2 separate regions of the Homo sapiens genome follow, and region 2 is linked to region 1. Evidence: promoter capture Hi-C in 16 types of primary human blood cells and fetal thymus (Javierre and others, 2016). All regions are on one chromosome and are shown on one strand. Each heading gives the region's core, a stretch centred on a gene start or on the middle of the fragment in contact. The rest is flanking DNA. Distances are from core to core; before and after follow the strand shown. Region 1 holds the start of SNX32 (sorting nexin 32). Region 2 overlaps EIF1AD (eukaryotic translation initiation factor 1A domain containing).

What was found. The method cuts DNA at HindIII sites, captures the fragments that hold promoters and counts their contacts. A CHiCAGO score of 5 or more calls a contact.
Region 2: a contact is called between a fragment that was not itself captured here and the fragment with the promoter of SNX32 in region 1, in 4 of 17 cell types (erythroblasts, M0 macrophages, naive CD8 T cells and 1 more). The highest score is 6.7, in erythroblasts.

What each region holds. Positions count from the first base shown.
Region 1 is chr11:65,830,645-65,837,092 of GRCh38, reverse strand. It overlaps SNX32 (sorting nexin 32), which reads right to left and starts at 3,130. Exons shown (of 13, transcript NM_152760.3): 1 at 2,992-3,130. The coding sequence starts at 3,027. LOC124902693 reads left to right here and starts at 3,294. Exons shown (of 7, transcript XM_047427980.1): 1 at 3,294-5,795. The coding sequence starts at 3,582. The coding sequence ends at 5,198. RefSeq lists an enhancer at 3,049-3,138 and silencers at 3,063-3,275, 3,449-3,578. The HindIII fragment of the contact is 7,193 bases long and covers 1-4,007 here.
Region 2 is chr11:65,991,325-65,997,972 of GRCh38, reverse strand. It overlaps EIF1AD (eukaryotic translation initiation factor 1A domain containing), which reads left to right. Exons shown (of 6, transcript NM_001242481.2): 6 at 1-1,428. Among named protein-coding and RNA genes, the nearest start is that of EIF1AD, 7.5 kb to the left of the region's middle. The HindIII fragment of the contact is 2,532 bases long and covers 3,506-6,037 here.

The DNA.
Region 1 (6,448 bases), core at 1,881-4,380:
TTTTATTTGTTTATTTTAATTTTTAAATTTTACTTTAAGTTCTGGGATACATTTACAGAATGTGCAGGTTTGTTACACAGGTATACATGTGCCATACTGGTTTGCTGCACCTATCAACCCGTCATCTAGGTTTTAAGCCCCACATGCATTAGGTATTTGTCCTAATGCTGTCCCTCCCCTTACCCCCCAGCCCCCCACAGGCCACAGTGTGTATTGTTCCCCTCCCTGTGTCCATGTGTTCTCATTGTTCAACTCCCACTTATGAGTAAGAACGTGTGGTGTTTGGTTTTATGTTCCTGTATTAGTTTGCTGAGAATGATGGCTTCCAGCTTCATCCAGGTCCCTGGAAAGGACATGATATTCTTTTTTATGGCTACATAATATTCCATAGTGTATATGTGCCACATTTTCTCTATCCAGTCTATCATTGATGGGCATTTGGGTTGGTTCCAAGTCTTTGCTATTGTAAATAGTGCTGCAACAAACACGTGTGCATGTGTCTTTATAGTATAATTATTTATAATCCTCTGGGTTTATTTATTTATTTTTGAGACAGATTCTCGCTCTGTTGCCCAGGCTAGAGTTCAATGGTGCGATCTTGGCTCACTGCAACCTTTGCCTCCTGGGTTCAAGCTATTCTCCTGTCTCAGTCTCCCAAGTAGTTGGGATTACAGGTGCGCACCACCACGTCTGGCCAATTTTTTGTATTTTTAGTAGAGATGGGGTTTCACCATGTTGGCCAGGCTAGTCTTGAATTCCTGACCTCAAGTGATTTGCCTGCTTTGGCCTCCCAGAGTGCTGCGATTACAGGCTTGAGCCACCACGCCTGGCCAGTATTTTATATTATTTCATTTTCTCCTCTATTATATTTTTGCTTATATATTCTTTTAATGTCTCTATATTTAAAGGAAGATCTTAGAGAAGGCAACACCTAACCTAGAGGATAAGTACTGGTAGTGAACTTTCAGAGTATGGCTCCTGCAAAGGCTGGGGGGTGCATCCATCTGTTCAATAGCTCAGCACATCCTCAGAACATACAGCAAAAATAATATAACAATAATAATAATATAATAGCTAACCCTTATGTTGGCCCTTACAATATGCTAGGCACCACTCTAACCATTTCATGTATATGCCCTAAGCATTTTATATATGTTAACTCCTTTAACCATGAAGATGAACATACATAGATAAACATTGAAGCAGACCATTCTGTTCCATGCTTTGTGTCTCTCAGCCCCTCTTGCCCCTCTAAACCACTTGAACCCCGCTCCTCATTTCTTGGCTTCTCTGACACTCCCAAGGCAGGCTCTCCCCTTGCCCCAGACCCCAAACACATGCAGTCTGGCTAACTGGTGCAGCAGGTCCCCTAGTCCCCAGCCTCTTTCCTCCTGCCTTAGTATCTCTACTCTGACCTACACTGCTTGGTAGCTGCTTGAGGGAGATGGGCCTCAAAGGTGGACCACAGCTGCTCCATCCTCATCCTCAGCCACGGCCCACTATGCATATGCCTCCATCTCCCAAAAGGGTGCACCTCTCCATGCTCTAACCATCCTTGGCACAACGTGGATGCTCGACAACTCTTTGCTGAAGGAAGTCAAAAGGAAGAAATGGTCTTATCATTACATGAACTCAGAACACAAGTGAAGCCATTAGGGCTGAACAGGATTCTCTCGCCTTGGGAAAGGAGAAGAGGATGCCAGCCTCTGCTCAATCCCTAACATCCTGCCCTCCTCCCCGCCCTCACCTCCCACCCCCTACCCACCTACCCCCATCAAGACAGCCTGAGTTGGTCTTGGGGAGGGTAAGAGTGACAGTGACGGGTCCCTTTCCATCTGTAAGGACAAAGGCAAAACCCTGCCTCCCTTGGCATCCTCATCAGTCCGCACACAGGTGCCACAGAGGCTCCCCACTCCCTTGCTCAAGTCTCCTTTCTCTCACTTGCGCAGACACACACATACACACAGAGACACATGGGCACATACACACACACAGACACACGAGACAAACACAGACACACGCACACACAGACACACATAGAAACACACACAGATACACAGACACACACAAACACACAGGCACAGAGAAACACACACACAGACACACACAACGACATACACAGATCATACACAGGCACACAGACACACACAGATGCACACACAGACACACTGACATAGACACACACAGATATACAAAGACACACGGATACAGACACACACAGACACATGCAAACACACACACAGACCCAGAAATACACAGACACACACACACAGACACACGCAGACCATACACACACACAGAGACACACACACACAGACATAAAGATGCACGCAGACCATACATAGACACAGAGACAGACACACACTCAGACACAAAGAGACACAGACCTGCGCAGACACACACAGGCACATGCGTGCACACACAGATACACACAGAGACACACACAGATGCATACATGCACACATGCAGACCATACACACAGACAGACACAGACACAAAGACACACGCAGACCATACACAGACACAGACACACAGACACACACACACAGACATGCACAGACACACACAGAGACAGACACAGACATGCACGCACAAACACCCACATGGACGCATACGTGCACACACACAGACACACACAGGCCATACACACACACACAGAGACACGGAGACACACAGACACACACACAGATACACAGAGACACACAAAGACACAGACACACACTGAGACACACACAGACACACAGACACACAGAGACACAAATACAGACATACACAGATACACACACACACAGACATATGCAGGCACATCGACATACACACAGACACACAGAGAAACAGACACATGCAGACTATACACACACAGACACACACAGAAACACACAGAGGCAGACCACACACACACAGACACACACACACCACCGCATGATTGGGCATCACGGGCTTTCATGGAGTGAGGGGAGGCTGGGGTGGGGGTCTTCATCCTTTCTCTACCTTGCCCTCCTTCCCAACCTCCGCATACGTCTCCATCGCTCTCCTGGGCTTCAGCGTCCGGCCACTGCCCGCGTGCTCCCGCAGGTCGTCCCCGTAACTCGCCCGAGGAACTGACCGAGTGAGGATGCTCTCAGCTGACGGGGACGCTCTCCCCCGCCCGGCCAAGGAGTCGCCTGGAGTCGGGGGCGGTTCCCACCGCGTTTCCCTCAGCCACGCCTTTCGATTGGGTAGCGGGGCACCGCGCGTGACGCCATTGGCTGCATTGTCTGTCGTTCCTGTCCCAGGCCCCAGCTTTTAAGGGACACGCGGCACGGAGAGTGGGCCGGTGATAGGCGACAGTGTGGGAGCTGGGGTCAGAGTTCATAGGGTCGCAGAGGCCGCGTGCCGCGTCTCCCTCCAGTCCCCGGGGGACTGACCCCCACAACAACCCCGTGCCGCCGTTCCGGGCCCCTCCTTCCAACGGCCACGTGCGGCCTGCGCGTGCGCACTCGCCCAGTTTGGCGCCCACCAGGCAGTGGGGAAGGGGAAGGGGAAGGGGAAGAGGGTGAGGGTGGCAGGGTGGGGACAGGGAATGGGAAGCAGTGGTGGGGATGTGGGTGGTGGACCAGGGGCGAGGGCAGGGGACAATGTCTGTGGAGAAGGGGGGTCTGTTTAGGTTTCCGCTCTTGGACGGGAGGGAGCGGCGGGGTAAGCAGCCTAGGAGGACTAGGGAGCTCCACAAGTCCCGCGGCCAGGGCGCCCCAAGCGAGGCCGGGGTCCGCGAACGGTCGCCACTGGAGCGGGGCTGCAAGGGGGTGCCGATGCTGCGAGAGAAAACCTGGGGACCTTGGAACGGGCTCATGGTAATTGGGAAGAGAGTGGAGCTCCTGACTAGAAACACTCGAAAGCCGAAGCTGGAGTCTGAGTACTGGAGACTGGAAGATGTGGAAAAGACGGTCTTGAAAGGGAAGTCAGGCCCGAGTCAGGAAAGGATGGATGTGAAGCTGCTATACCGTGGAGCAAGTGCATCACAAGCTTCAGCAGATTTGGGGAAAGACAGCCCAAGGGGTATTTGGGGAAAGCAAGAGGTCAAACACGAAATAAAGGCTAAATCTAAGAGTGCAGGGATGACAGCAGGGCCTATGAAGGGGTCTGGGTTTGAAGAGAGGTTGAGGTCTGCTGGGGAGAAGGTAGGGACCAGTGGAGAGGACTTGAGATCCAATGGATATAAACTGGGACAGGATGAGAAGGGGTTGAGGTCTAGTGTAGACAAGATGAGATCAAGTGTAGAGAAGCTGAGGTCTACTAGTGAGAAGCTGGTGTGCAGGGGAGAGAAGCAGGGGTCCAGTGGAGTGAAGCTGAGGTCCAGTGGCAGAAAGCTGAGATCAAGTGGAGAGAATTTGAGATCAAGTAGAGAGAAGCTGAGATGGAGTGGAGAGAAGCTGGGAACTAGTGGAGAGAAGCTGGGAACCAGTGATGAGAAGCTGAGGTTGAGTGGAGAGATGCTGAGATCAATCAGAGAGAAGCTGAGGTTGAGTGGAGAGAAGCTGGGAACCAGTGATGAGAAGCTGAGGTTGAGTGGAGAGAAGCTGAGGTTGAGTGGAGAGAAGCTGAGATCAAGCAGAGAGAAGCTGAGGTTGAGTGGAGAGAAGCTGGGAACCAGTGATGAGAAGCTGAGGTTGAGTGGAGAGAAGCTAAGATCAAGCAGAGAGAAGCTGAGGTTGAGTGGAGAGAAGCTAAGATCAAGCAGAGAGAAGCTGAGATTGAGTGGAGAGAAGCTGGGAACAAGTGATGAGAAGCTGAGGTTGAGTGGAGAGAAGCTGAGATCAAGCAGAGAGAAGCTGGGAACCAGTGGAGAGAAGCTGAGATCAAGCAGAGAGAAGCTGAGGTTGAGTGGAGAGAAGCTGGGGTCAAGTGCGGAGAAGCTGAGATCTAGTGAGGAGAAGTTAGGGACCAGCGGGGAGAAATTGGAGGGTTCAAGAATGGGGAGCATAAATGAGAAGAACATTGAAAAAGTGGTAGAAGTTACTGGCGATGAAAGAGTGATGGCATTTACTCATGATGAGATGGAAATTCCTTTTGAAAGTGTCAAAGGGAGTGAGGAACTACAAGGGACTGAGAAAGGAGTGGGAGTTGAGGGGGGCATCTTGAGTGAAGTGAAAGATATCACTGATGAATCTGTTTCTATGGAAAAAAAAGATATTATAGGTGAAGGTACCAGTGAATGAGGCAGATGAAGGATTGACACCAAAGAAGGAAAGAGGCAGACAGGAGAAGTACTGAAAGTCAGAGGAGAAATTAGAGCCAGACAGAACATTATTGACACTGAAGGGGTAAAGTTGAGAAAGGAAAGGAGAGAGTCTGAGCCTAAAATAAAAGAGAGTGGAAGTGAGGAAAAGAGCTTCTGGGGCTGAAGGCGGAGGCCAGGATCAAAGGAAGCAAAGAGGAGTCTCTGGTTCAGAGGGAAGTGGGAACATATGGAGGAGAAAGAGAAGACTTGGTAATGTGTTGACAGAGGACACTTGGATATTGGGAGAAAAGGTGTGACTGGGAGCTCATAGGGAAATGTTTGAGAAAAGGATGGAGGATGGGCTAGAAGGATTTAGTCTGACACTAAATGGGGTCTATGAGATGGAGAATTGCAGCAGGATAAAGGGTAGATTTTGAGAGTTGTGGAAGAAGGTGCAGACTGAAGTGGGCAAAATTTCTGAAAGAGGAGCCTGAAGAATGAAGGGCTCCCAAGTGACAAAAGCAAGAGAGGAGATAAGAAAGAAGTGAGAAAAAACATAAGAAGCCACGTGCCATAATGGTGATTGTGTTTGTTGGTATGTCCTTCATTATTTCCTTTTCTTTTCTTTTCTTTTCTTTCTTTCTTTCTTTCTTTTTCTTTTTTCTTTTTTTTTTTTGAGACAGTCTTGCTCTGTTGCCCAGGTTGGAGTGTGCAGTGGCGCAATCTCGGCTCACTGCAACCTCTGCCTCCCAGGCTCAAGCGATTCTCCTGTCTCAGCCTCCCAAGTAGCTGGGATTACAGACATGTGCCACCATGCCTGGCTAATTCCCTCACTATCTTCTAACTTCCAAGTATTGCTATTTATAAGTCTTTTTGTTCTTTTCTTTTAATTCTATAGATAGTGTTTTTTTCTATGTAAATTACCTGTTTGCTACCACTCCCTAACTCAACCTGTATCCTCACCCCATTTTCTCTGGCCTTACTAGAGGATGTTAGACCTTGAATTATAGCTGTTATCTTTTTTTCTCCTTTTGCCCGTCTCTTTTTATTGTATTCTCTGGGCAATTTCATTAACTTTAAAACAATTGATGTATAGTAGATGTACGTATTTTGGGGGTACCTGTAATATTTTGATACATTCATATAATGTGTAAAGATCAAATCAGGGCAATTGGGATATCCATCATCTTAAATATTTATCTTTTCTTTATGCCAGGAACATTCGAATCATTCTCTTCTAGTGATTTT
Region 2 (6,648 bases), core at 3,522-6,021, 160 kb before region 1:
TGGCTGGCAAATCTCTCTATCCTTAACTTTGTTTTGAATGGTCCATCCATCTCCTGACTTTATTTGAAACCTGATTATTCCCTGAGGACATTGATTGTCTTATAACCTTTTAAATAGAGGCTGCTTTTCCACCCTCACCCTTCATTCTTCTAACCAGCCCTGACATTCTCATGAGTAACCTTCTGCCTTCACTTCCCTCTTGTGTAGCATCAATTCCGTAGTCCACCCTACACCCCTCTGTCTCCCTCCATTCTGTTCCGCTAGTAAAACCCTAACCCTGGGTAAACCCAATCATTCACCTCTGTGCCCAAACCCAAGTCACCATCATTAGGTGAGAAAACAGCCAGCCTGGCCACCAGTTGTACCTTACGTTTATCATTACAAACCTCAGATGGACACTAAGCACTGCCCAGCAGATCTACTCTGGGATGTCTGTTTCAAAACTTCTGTCTTATCTATCAATTCCCCCTTGTGGTAGTTACCACAACACATGCCTCATTAAGAAACAGCAACCATCAGAGGGAATGCCTGCCTCCCTGTTACCAGCTCTGCAGATGTGCACATATCTTCCTGTCGTAAGCCAATGGGACTTAAACCTTACCTCTTGTGTTTTGGAGACTATCTTTTTTTTTTTTTTTTTTTTTTTGAGAGAGTGTCTCCCTGTGTTGCTCAGGCTGGAGTGCAGTGGTGTGATCTCGGCTCACTGTAACCTTCACCTACTGGGTTCAAGTAACTCTCCTGCCTCAGCCTCCCGAGTAGCTTGGACTACAGGCGTGCACCACCACACCTGGCTAACTTTTTGTATTTTTAGTAGAGACGGGGTTTTGCCATGTTGCCCGGGCTGGTCTCGAACTCCTGACCTTAAATGAGCCTCCTGCCTCAGCCTCCCAAACTGCTGGGATTACAGGCGTGTGCCACCATGCCTGGCTAATTTTTATATTTTCAGTAGAGACGAGGTTTTGCCATGTTGGCCAGGCTGGTCTCGAACTCCTGACCTCAAGTGGTCCACCCACCTTGGCCTCCTAGAGTGCTGGGATTACAGGTGTGAGCCACTGTGCCCGGCCTCTTTTGCTTTCTTAAAGACTTTGGTCGGGTATTTGTGTTGTTGAGTATTGTGTCTGGGTGTGGGTATTTGATTCTTTTTTTGTTTTGTGTTTTTGGCTGTCCTGTCTATTGGATGTGATATGTTATGGATGTGATGTGTTAGTGTCGAGCGTGCTGTAGAATCTCCCATTTCTGAAACAGGCGTGAAAACCTGTACTGATTCCCACGTCCTCCAGCTACCACTTCATTTGTCTGTTTCTCATTTACTTTCTCTTATAGCGTGGCTTTAAACATATATACATTTGTATATATGTATATATGAATATAATGTATAAAATGTATGTAGATGTATATACAAAAAATAAACGAGATGGGTTAAAGATATGTATGTGTGTGTATCTATCTTTAATTCATCTGAAGTTTGTTTTTTCTGAGAGGTAGCAAACTTTCCCTAAAGGGAAAGTCACTTGTCCCTGTACTATTTCTTGAAAGGTTCATTCTTTGCTCACTGGAAATATTTCTTTTTTTTTTTTTTTGAGACGGAGTCTCGCTCTGTTGCCCAGGCTGGAGTGCAGTGGCGCCATCTCGGCTCACTGCAAGCTCTGCCTCCCGGGTTCACGCCATTCTCCTGCCTCAGCCTCCTGAGTAGCTGGGACTACAGGCACCCACCACCACGCCCGGCTAATTTTTTGTATTTTTAGTAGAGATGGGGTTTCACCGTTGTTAGCCAGGATGGTCTCAGTCTCCTGACCTCGTGATCTGCCTGCCTTGGTCTCCCAAAGTGCTGGGATTACAGGCATGAGCCACCACGCCTGGCCAGAAATATCTTTTAAAACATAAATTCCTGCATATATATGGATCTTTTTTGGAATTTCTAATCTGTCCTATTGATCCGTGTGCCCATACTGCATTTTTTTTTTTTTTGAGACAGTCTTGCTTTGTCACCCAGGCTGGAGTGCAGTGGCGTGATCTCAGCTCGCTGTAACCTCCGCCTCCCAGGTTCAAGCGATTCTCCTGCCTCAGCCTCTCCATAGCTGGGACTACAGACACTTGCCACTACACCCGGCTAATTTTTGTATTTTTAGTAGAGACGGAGTTTCAACTTTTATTTTTTTGAGACAGGGTTTCACTCCTGTCACCCAGGCTGGAACACAGTGATGCAATCATGGCTCATTGCAGCCTCCACCTCCTGGGCTCAAGCGATCCTTCTACCTCAGCCTACTGCGTAGCTGGGACCACAGGTGTGCACCACCACATCGGGCTAATTTTTCTTTTTCTATTTTTTTTTTTTTTTTTTTTTGTAGAGCCAGTCTTATTATGTTGCCCAGGCTGGTCTCAAACTCCTGGGCAAGCCATCCTCCCGCCTCAGCCTCCCAGAGGGCTGGGATTCCAGGCGTGAGCCACTATGTCCACCCAAGAAGTGGTATCTTAACAGTTTATTTTTAGTTTTGTTTAAATAAATATTGTAGAAAAATTAACAGTTTTTCATCTTCCTGTCCAGAAATGAGGTATGTTCTTTGGTAAGGTGGTGTGGTCTTCAAATGGGCCTTTACTTCCAATTTGGTTTAGTCTTAGGAGTTTTATGAAAGTCCTAGTTACTGGTAGTGAAGGATCTGTGGAAATCACCTTTCCCCATCCCTGGCATCCACCTGTGTGTCCATCTTTGTGTTGCCCACCTTGTCGAATGCGCAGTTCTTCAGTTGATCTTGTGGCTTTATAGATAGCCAAATCGTATCCCACTAATGACAGTTTTATCTCCTCCTTTACACTCATGTCTATTTCTTGTGAATCTCAGAGGCCAGGACCTCCACCGTGGTTGCATGGCACCCTTGATTGATGTTTTCTCAGTGGGAATGGTTCTCACGTTGCGTCCTGAGGTAGGACGCTTGCTCTGGGCTTCCGGTAGATGATCTTCATTAGACTGAAGATGTTTTCTTTGTTCCATCTTACTGTTTTTTTTTTCTCCTTCGCTTTTGTTTAACAGTGATGAATGTTGACATCTATGGAGAAAATCAAAAGATTTTATTGTATGATTGTACTGAGTTACAGTAATAGGTTTCCTAATGTTGGACACACCTTACTTTCTGATATAAACCTTGCTTAGTTTTACAGTATATTATGTATTTACTTAGGAGTTTTATCTCTCTCCCTGGGCCAATCCCCTCCCTCTTTTTAAAAAATGACCTTCCTGTTCTATTTCGAGATTAGCTTTATGCTAGCCTTGCAAATGGGTTTGGAGACGTCTTTTTCTTCAGGCTTGAATACTTTATAGGCCAGGCATTTGTTTCTTCAACGTTGTGAACTTGTTTACAAAAACATCTGTGCTGGGTACCTTTTTCAGGGGTGGATCTTTCACTGCCTTTTAGTTTATTCAGTTGTGTTCTGTCTAAAGTTTTCTATCCTTGAGTCAATTTTGATCATTTGTATCATTCCAGGATCATATTTCATATATATTTAAGCTTTTTGGGCAAAAGTTCATGCATAATATTTGTATTATTTGGAACTTTCTTTTTTTGTTTGTTTGTTTTTGTTTTGTTTTTGAGGCAGAGTTTCACTGTGTCGCCCAGGCTTGAGTGCAGTGGTGCAGTATCGGCTCACTGTAACCTCCACCTCCCGGGTTCAAGTGATTCTCCTGCCTCAGCCTCCCAAGTAGCTGGAATTACAGGCACCCGCCACCACACCCAGCTAATTTTTGTATTTTTAGTAGAGATGGGGTTTTGCCATGTTGACCAGGCTGGTCTCAAAGTCCTGACCTCAGGTGATTGGCCCCCCTCAGCCTCACAAAGTGCTGGGATTACAAGGGTGAGCCACTGCACCCAGTAATTTTTTTTTTTTTTTTGAGACAGCCTCTCACTCTGTTGCCCAGGCCATCATGGCGCCACTGCAGCCTTGACCTCCCAGGCCCAAGTGATTCTCCCACCTCAGCCTCCTGAGTAGCTGGAACCACATGTGCGCGCCACCACACCTGGCTAATTTTTTTTATTTTTAGTAGAGACAGGCTCTCCCTATGTTGCCCAGGCTAGTCTCGAACTCCCAGGCTCAAGTGATGCTCCTGCCCTGGCCTCTCAAAGTACTGGGATTACAGGTGAGAGCCACCATCCTGGCGTATGCGGGACTTTCTTATAAATGACAAAATTGAACTCAAATTAGGAGAAGTAAGCAAGGCTCATTGACCTGAGGTCTCTGAGTGGTGCGCATCGGGCAGGGATGAACCAATGCCAGCAGCATGAATTCCTCAGGCTCTCTCATTTATCTCTGTCATCTCTGCTCCCGGCTGATTAATTTCTTTCCCTCCTACAGATGTTTTCTGTAGAAAGCTCAAGTTTTTTTTTTTTTTTTTTTTTTGAGACGGAGTCTCGCTGTTGCCCAGGCTGGAGTGCAATGGCGCGATCTCGGCTCACTGCAGGCTCCGCCCCCCGGGGTTCACGCCATTCTCTTGCCTCAGCCTCCTGAGTAGCTGGGACTACAGGCGCCCGCCACCACGCCCGGCTAATTTTTTGTATTTTTAGTAGAGACAGGGTTTCACCGTGTTAGCCAGGATGGTCTCGATCTCCTGACCTCGTGATCCGCCTGCGTCGGCCTCCCAGAGTGCTGGGATTACAGGCATGAGCCACTGCGCCCAGCCAGGACGCTCAAGTTTATACACAGTCCTTGTAGACAGAGCCCCTTGGGGCTCTTGAGGATCCCTGTATTTCCGTGAAGGGCGATTGATCTTCCTCAGGTCACTTGCTGTGCTTGAGCAGTCACTGTGGCCAGGGCCGGGGGGTGGGAGGGTGTGGAGGACTGGGGTGGGGCAGGATGAGCCACAAGTAATTTTTATATGTTTCCCATGGAATAGAGAGGTTCTATTACCAGAAAAAGTGGGGCAAGGGGTGAGGGCAGGTGAAATCAACAAAATATGTTTATATTTTGTGTATTTTATTTGGCTAGCTTTGCAAGAGGTCTTCCTTACTGGACTTTTCCTTCGTTTCTTTGGGTTTATTTGCTCATTCTGGGTTCTTGAGATGTGTGCTTAGCTAATTTAATTTCAATTTGTTTTCTAATATATTCAGGGCTATATGTTTTCTTCTAAATAGTCCTTTGACTGTTCCCCACTTTGTGTGTGTGTGTTTTGGCGTTTTATCTGTAAACTTGGTCTTATGTTCTTCTCCATTCTCTCAGTGATACTGTGATCCACCTAGTAACATCTTTTTTTCCCCCTAAAACCTTTTCGTTTCCACTTCTTCATCTCTTACCAGCCATTCAGCTTCTGTGGGCTGTAGCTAAGGGTACTGATGGAGGTAGGGTCCTTGTATTCTGCATGCTACTTTCCTATGTCATTCTCTGAAGCTGGATTCCACCTCTGTTCTTCCAACTGAATGGTGGGATCCAACCATGTATGAATAGATCTCCCTGAGTGAGCTGAGATCTGATGTAAGAGCCCCTTGTCCCGATGTCATGGCCAGTCCCTGTGACTGGCTGCCTAATAGTACTTACTGGCTTCTCTTGCAGTTATGCTTGAGACTTTGTGGCCCTTCAGAATCTGTACCTCTGTCACTTCAGGACTAACCTCTACAGCCAGGTCATTTCCACCAGGGCTTCCCCGTGTGGCCCAGTGCGCTTTCCCCCCTTGCCACCCAGCCACCCCTGTGTGTGTGCCAGGGAGCACAGATGGCAGTCTGAGCTCACCACATGGTTTTCCTCTTCTAATCTGTAAATGTGGTGGAGTATCATAACATTCTCTCACGTTAAGATATCCTTGCATTCCTGGAAGAAGACAGTCACAATGGATTTGTTATTATACTGCCGGATTTGGTTCTCTGGTATTTTGGCATCCAGGTGTATAGGTGAAATGGTTTAAGGTTTTCCTTTTCCGTACTGCCCCCACCCTTTGTTTTGTATCAAGGTTATACCAGCTTCATATAAATAAGTTGGAAAGTGTTTTCCCTTTATTTTCATTACGAGAGTTTGTATAAGATTGGAATTTTGCATTTCTACAATTTTTGGTAAAGCTTGCTGTAAAACCAACCATGCCTGGCGATTTTTTGGGTGGGTGGGTAGGTAGGTTTGGAATTAGATTGTCAGTGGTAATAGATTACTCAGGTGTTCTGTTCTTCAGTCATATTTTCAAGGAAAAATATTTTCATGTTATTTATTTATTTATTTATTTTTGAGACAGGATCTTGCTCTGTCGCCCAGGCTGGAGTGCAGTGGCCCCATCTCGGCTCACTGCAACCTCCGCCTCCCGGGTTCAAGTGATTCTCCTGCCTCAGCCTCCCGAATAGCTGGGATTACAGGTATGTGCCACCATGGCCGGCTAATTTTTGTATTTTTAGTAGAGATGGGGTTTCACCATGTTGGCCAGGCTGGTCTCAAACTCCCGATCTCAGGTGATCTGCCCACCGCAGCCTCCCAAATTGCTGGGGTTACAGGCGTGAGCCACCACACCCAGCCCCCATATTTTCTCATGTTTGCTATGGCTTCAAACTTACTGGCGCAAAGTTATTTGTATGATTGCCTTATGTTTGTAATCTTGGCTGTATCCAAAGTTATGTCCCCCTTTTTACATGTAATATTGTTTATTTGTGCCTTCTCTCTGTTATAGCTGGTCAATCTTGGCAGAAG